2 separate regions of the Homo sapiens genome follow, and region 2 is linked to region 1. Evidence: promoter capture Hi-C in human tissues and cell types (Jung and others, 2019). All regions are on one chromosome and are shown on one strand. The core of a region is centred on a gene start or on the middle of the fragment in contact, and the rest is flanking DNA. Distances in the headings are between cores, read along the strand shown.

Region 1 (3,372 bases), core at 603-3,102:
GTCAAGTTCTTTCACAGGACAAAGTAATCTCTGGTACCCCCCAAAACCAATGATATCAGGTAATGCACTACAAAAGAAGGCAGAATTTTAGACCTGAGATAAATCTGTCCTCTTAAAACTCTTGAGTGAGAGAGAGAGAGAGAGAGAGAGAGAGAGGGAGAGAGATTTCCTCATCTGGTTAGTGTAGATAGCAGGTTGGCTTCCTGAGCTGGTCAGTGCAGTAGTGGGTTAGAGTTCTGTTTTATATTTGGCTTGGCCATTGTTGATTTCTATAGTCAATTTCTTACATGTAAACAAGGAAGATAGCTATAATATTGAGATTTCTTGTTTTCTTAACTGGTCTTAGGTTGAAAATTGATTTTTCATTCTCCTCCCCGCTCCCCCCTCCCCCCACCATCCCATTCTTCTGCCTCTGCCGGATCTTCAGCTGGGTAGCATTTTGGTTTTGTTTGTTTTTTAACCTGGAGGATGTCCCCAAATATCAAAACCTAAACTTCTGATTCTTAGAAGTCCTCCCTTCGATGAGTTGCTAGTTTTATTTCTGAACATGAACTTACCAAAACATCCCCCAGAAATCCCCTGGTCTCAGACATAACTCTCTATGCTTCCCATTCCATGGCAGCAACTCAGCCTAACTCATCCAAAGCAAAAAAGCAATCCCTTCTTGCTTAAGTGACACAAGGATCCCCAGATGAACAAGTAGCTGTATCACCCTTCAATTAAATGTAATAATATTTACTTCTGGTGGAACCTCTCCTTCCTTGGAACAAAGGGCCCCCAACCAGCAGAATTTACAATTAAGAAGAAGTGGCCAGACACAGTGGCTCAAGCCTGTAATCCCAGCACTTTGGGAGGCCGAGGCAGGCAGATCATAAGGTCAGGAGTTCGAGACCAGCCTGGCCAACATGGTGAAACCCTATCTCTACTAAAGATACAAAAAATTAGCTGTGCGTGGTGGTGCGTGCCTGTAATCACAGCTACTCGGGAGGCTGAGGCAGGAGAATTGCTTTAACCCGGGAAGAGGGGGTTGCAGTGGGCTGAGATCATGCCATTGCACTCCAGCCTGGGCGACAGGGCAAAAAAAAAAATTAGCCGGGCATGGTGGCGGGCGCCTATAATCTCAGCTATTCAGGAGGCTGAGGCAGAAGAATCGCTTGAAGCCGGGAGGCAGAGGTTGCAGTGAGCTGAGATCGCGCCAATGCACTCCAGCCTGGGTGACAGAGCAAGATTCTGTCTCAAAAAAAAAAAAAGAAAAAAAGAAAAAAGAAGAAGGGTAGCAGAAATTCTGTGAATGAGTTACTAGGTTCAAAAATGAGGATGCTCAATATAATGCATAGGTTCAGAAAAAAATTACGATGAAAAGAATTGTCAAATTTTGTAACTGATACTTGACCTGGTTAAATTTGAATTATTTCTAATTCCCTATGTATATGTGCAGTGAGATAAAAGATAAATATTGTATGTGACATACTCATCATAAAATTATTTGTTGTTTATCTGAAATACATTCTAAATCAGGGGTCCCCAACCCCTGGGGCCACAGATGAGTACTATGGCCTGTTAGGAATGGGGCCATATAGCAGAGGGTGAGTGGCAGATGAGTGAGCATTGCTGCCTGATCTCCGCCTCCTGTCAGATCGGCAGCAGCATTAGATTCTCATAGGGGTGCAAACCCTACTGTGAACTGCACAAGAGAGGGATCTAGGTTGTATGCTCCTTATGAGAATCTAATGCCTCTGAAACCATCTGCCCCCAAACCCCTCTCCCTTATCCATGGAAAAATTGTCTTCCACAAAACCGGTCCCTGGTACTAAAAAGCTTGGGGATCACAGTTCTAATGACATAACTCTTTCCCTGATAATTTGCTTCTACTTAACAATTCCTTGTTTTATATAATTTGCTTACAGAATTCCTGCAGTTACAGTCTTGATGCCATTTATGTTGTGACAAACCTTCGTCATTTGTCATATTCAACTTATTTCATTCCTTTATCTATTGGACATTCATTAATGAGAAACACACTCAACAGTAGCATTCTGAGCCTAAAGACTCATGATGATAAACAGTGTAGAAAACATTACAAACTCTATTATAATTATTCTACCATCTCCATCTGATTTTAACAAAAAAGTTATTTTGTCTCTTTCTTTGGAACTAGTTGAGAAAATCATGCACCTTCCAAAGTTAATATATATTTGACTGTCCACCATTTTCATTAGTCAATGGGCAATTACATAGAGTCGAAGACCTTCAAAGGGAATTTTAAATACTCCTCAGTTCATCATAAATTATAAACTTGCATTTTGACATTTTTTGCATTCAATATACTCAAAATATAGACAATAGCAACTTCTACAAGAGTTGAAAAACATTGTGGGTACAGTGGCTCATGCCTGTAATCGCAGCACTTTGGGAGGCCTAGGCGGACAGATCACTTGAGGTCAGGAGTTCGAGACCAGTATGGCCAACATGGCGAAACCCCATCTCTAATAGAAATACAAAAAATTAGCCAGGCATGGTGCCACGCGCCTGTAATCCCAGCTACTTGGGAGGCTGAGGCATGAGAATCACTTGAACCTGGGAGCCAGAGGTTGCAGTGAGCCGAGATTGCGCCACTGCACTCCAGCTGGGTGACAGAGTGAAACTGTATCTTAAAAAAAAAAAAGAAAAGAAAGAAAAAAGAAAACACTGGAGAAAACGTTGGATTTTACAATGTATGTCTGGGTCAGTTAGTCTACCATTTCATATCCAAACTCATAACTAATTACAAACAGATGGAACCATTGAAAGCTTGCAAACTTTTAAATTATATTCATATAATTAAAATATAAGTAATAATTTATATTCAATTAAGAATAAATGGGGCCAGGCGTGGTGGCTCATGCCTGTAATCCCAGCACTTTGGGAGGCCGAGGCAGGCGGATCATGAGGTCAAGAGATCGAGACCATCCTGGCCAACATGGTGAAATCCCGTCTCTACTAAAAATACAAAAAAATTAACTGGGCGTGGTGGCGTGCATATGTAGTTCCAGCTACTTGAGAGTCTGAGGCAGGAGAATCACTTGAACCGGAGAGGCGGAGGTTGCAGTGAGCCGAGATCACACCACTGCACTCCAGCCCAGCGACAGAGTGAGACTCCGTCTCAAAAAAAAAAAAAAGAATAAATAGATTTTGATATCTCAAGGGAAAAAAAGTGATATTCCTATTTGTCTGCAGGGCAGAGCTGTAGTGGTCAGGCAGTCTCCTCAAACAAAGCCAAAACTGCTATTATATGAGCTTTTAGGAAGGCTGGCCTTCAGGGACTGAGGACTTTCAGAAGCAGCAGAGTTGAAAGACTGATGGACTTTCAGGTATGTTAGTGTAAATGCAACC
Region 2 (3,037 bases), core at 32-2,531, 190 kb before region 1:
CTTATCTGATTTCCTTTCTCAGGAAACCAAGCATCAGGCCTCCCAGATAGTATAAAGAAACTGAAACTTACTGGATTACCACATCTGGAAAAACGAGATGCTATACCCCTTACCCATGATGATTGCCTAACTGACCATCTGCTGCCTGTTGACCCATTCCTCTTCCTTACCCCTTCCTAATTCCTGTTTTCTCAAACATAGTTACACTTCTTCCCTGATGTATAAACCCCTAGTTTTAGTCAGTTGAGGAAAGAGATTTGAGATTGATCTCCCATTTTCCTCAGCTGCAGCACCGAATAAAGCCTTCATCCCTGACAATACTCATTGTCTTGCTGACTGGCCTTCTGTGCAGCAAGCAGCAGGATCTAGATGCAAGGACCTGGCCTTTCTGGTAATATTGTCATCAACCATTTAATGATGTAGACTTGGTCCCCGGCTCATGCTCTGTGTATTTTCTTCTCCATCTACATGCATTGCCTTGATGGTCTCACTCAATATCATGACTTGAAATAACAGTGTAAGGTAACTCCTAAATTCATATATTCATGCTCAAACCTTCTTCCAACATTCAGTCGTAAGTCGAATTGCCTGTGACAGAGATACTTTGTGGTTCTGTAGACATTTCAAACTAACCATCCTGAGCCTCCGAACCTCCTCCACTTGCAGCCTCCCCACCTCAGAAGTGGGCAAATCCACTTTTTGTGTGGTCTGGGCCAAATACATGACTCCCTGCATCACGTAGAGGCTGTGCTGGTCCAAAGAAGGCTCAAAAGAGGGCAGTTTGCGCACACAACGTGTCGGGGCAGGGCTTCCAGATGATCATTCGGCTTTTTTGTGTCTTCCAAGATGATGATCCGGGGAGGAGGGATGTGAAAGGGGGTCAGTCGCCAGGCGAGCTGAGGACCCAGTTCTGCGCCTTTGCCTGTGCCCTGACCTGAAGGAAAGTCCCTGTCTCCCGAGCTCCGATTTTCCCGAGAGAAGAATGCAATGTAACCCTTGCCCCTCGGTTCCCTCCCTCCATCCTTCCCCTCGAGTTGTGCCCACCGTAAAGAGGTGGGTCTGGAGCGTCTCCTCGGGTCCTGGAGTGCCTTTCCCTGGGAGGAAAACTTGCGCCGTGAAGCGTTCCTCCCGTTGTTGAACACATGAGGAAAACTACACTACTTAGAAGGCTGTGCATTATGCGTACGGCGGGAGCTGGGCCAACGACGGCCTAGGACGGGGACGTTTCCGACGGCTCACGCCGGTGGGGGCGGGACTTCCGGGTTGCTCGCTGCGGACGCCATTTTCTTCTGCACTTCTGTCTGGAGAGGTCTGTAGCCACTGAGGGCCCCGGTCGGGGCCGCTTTGCAGGTCCCTAGTCAGGACCGAGCAGGGGAGTAGGATAGGAATCCCCGCCGCACCTTTGTACGAGCCTGACCCCTTCCGTGGGTTTGTTCCTGGGTCGCCGTCAAGCTGCGGTCTCTCCTCCCCCGCCCTTCAGCCCCGCGGTCTCCAGGGGCGGCGCCCTGGGTCTGGAACGCGGTTGCCACCGAGGAGGCGGCGGCCCTGCGTCTGGAACGCCGTTGCCACCGAGGAGGCGGCGGCCCCGAGCGCGCCTGGAAGCCCCGGGCAACCGGCCAGGGTCGGGCACAGGTGGGGTCCGTCAGGCCGCCCGGGGCTCCTCTGTCCCAGCTCTGCGGCCCAGGGGGTGACGTGATGGCGGCAGCGGTGCTGACGGACCGGGCCCAGGTGAGTGGACGGTGGCTTCGCGGTTGCCGCTTCCTTGCCAGCGCTGAGGCGGTTTCCGAAGTGGGTGGGAGCCCAGGTATCCCCTGGATTTGTCTTCGCAGTCGTCGTTCGCTTTGGTGTGTGGAGCTGGTTTGCCACTTAATTTATACCTGGCCGTAAGGAGTGTTGGGCCTACTGGAAGGAGCTCCGTAGGTTGTTGAGTGAATGATGCTTCCTCTGGGGACTCCCATCATCCTTGGCCTGCAAGCATTCTCTGGTGGACCAGGTCTCATTCCAGCATGAATTGGGGGCCTGAGGGGGGAAGGGGAGGGCAGGGCAGTAGCAAGCCGACAAATGCGCGAGCAGAGACAAGGTATGTTGTATGTTTAAGGAGGCTCAGGAGGGTGTGTAAGGTTGCCATGGTTTTCCTGCGGCCGCTGAGACGTGGAGGGCAACAGTGTGTGGTCTTTTCCTGGATGTTCTAGCCATCCGCAACTACTGCAGACATTGTGGCCAGTCAGATGCCCTTACTCTCATCGCTACAGCCTGCATTATCCTTGGCCGCTCGTGTTCCGTGGCCCCAAAGTATCCTGGCGTCAGAGACAAGTTCTGTCGGAACCCAGTAAGGAAAGAGGCCGATGGTTGGTTCATTGTGGAATTTCCTTGGGGGATCTGGGAGACCCAGGGAGATCCCAGAGGGCATGGGAAGCTGGTCTGGAGCCTGTCGTTCCCCAAGTAGATGCAGCCCTTCCAGTGCCGCTCTGTGGGGTCAGTGAGGAATGCTGAGCTTTTTGTGCCCGTGTTCACATACTTTTTTTTGTTTTGAGACAGGGTCTCACTCTGTCGCCCAGGCTGGAGTACAGTGGTGCACTCTCAGCTCACTGCAGTCTCTGCCTCCCAGGTTCAAGCAATTCTCCTGCCCCAGCCTGCCGAGTAGTTGGGATTACAGGCATGCACTACCACACCTGACTGATTTTTGTATTTTAGTAGAGACTGGGTTTCACCATATTTGCCAGGCTGGTCTTCAACTCCTGGCCTCAAGCGATCCGCCCACCTCGACCTCCCAAAGTGCTGGGATTACATGCATGAGCCACCATGCCCGGCCCACAGATACGTTTTTCAGGGCTAATTGAAATAGACTTAATGTTAGAAATGAGTGGAAATGCTTATAACTTCATCGCATTAGATTTGCTTTGATGTTGGGGGAGTGTTGGAGTTACACTGTTAGACCGTGAATCATAGTAACCCCATGTTTAGATCCTATCTATGGTGGTGAGATGTGTGACTGGGTGAATTGATAGCGCTTCCTTAGCATGAAGTCATTGACTGT

Evidence for each region. The method cuts DNA at HindIII sites, captures the fragments that hold promoters and counts their contacts. A contact is called where the count stands out against the background at its distance.
Region 2: a contact is called between the fragment with the promoter of ZNF264 here and a fragment that was not itself captured in region 1, in 3 of the 25 tissues and cell types used here (adrenal gland, dorsolateral prefrontal cortex and thymus).

Annotation. Positions count from the first base shown.
Region 1 is chr19:57,383,127-57,386,498 of GRCh38, forward strand. No RefSeq gene overlaps it. Among named protein-coding and RNA genes, the nearest start is that of ZNF548, 5.0 kb to the right of the region's middle. The HindIII fragment of the contact is 6,124 bases long and covers 1-3,372 here.
Region 2 is chr19:57,190,219-57,193,255 of GRCh38, forward strand. ZNF264 (zinc finger protein 264) reads left to right here and starts at 1,282. Exons shown (of 4, transcript NM_003417.5): 1 at 1,282-1,728. The coding sequence starts at 1,696. RefSeq lists enhancers at 1,118-1,177, 1,198-1,287, 1,298-1,357 and a silencer at 1,528-1,797. The HindIII fragment of the contact is 13,408 bases long and covers 1-3,037 here.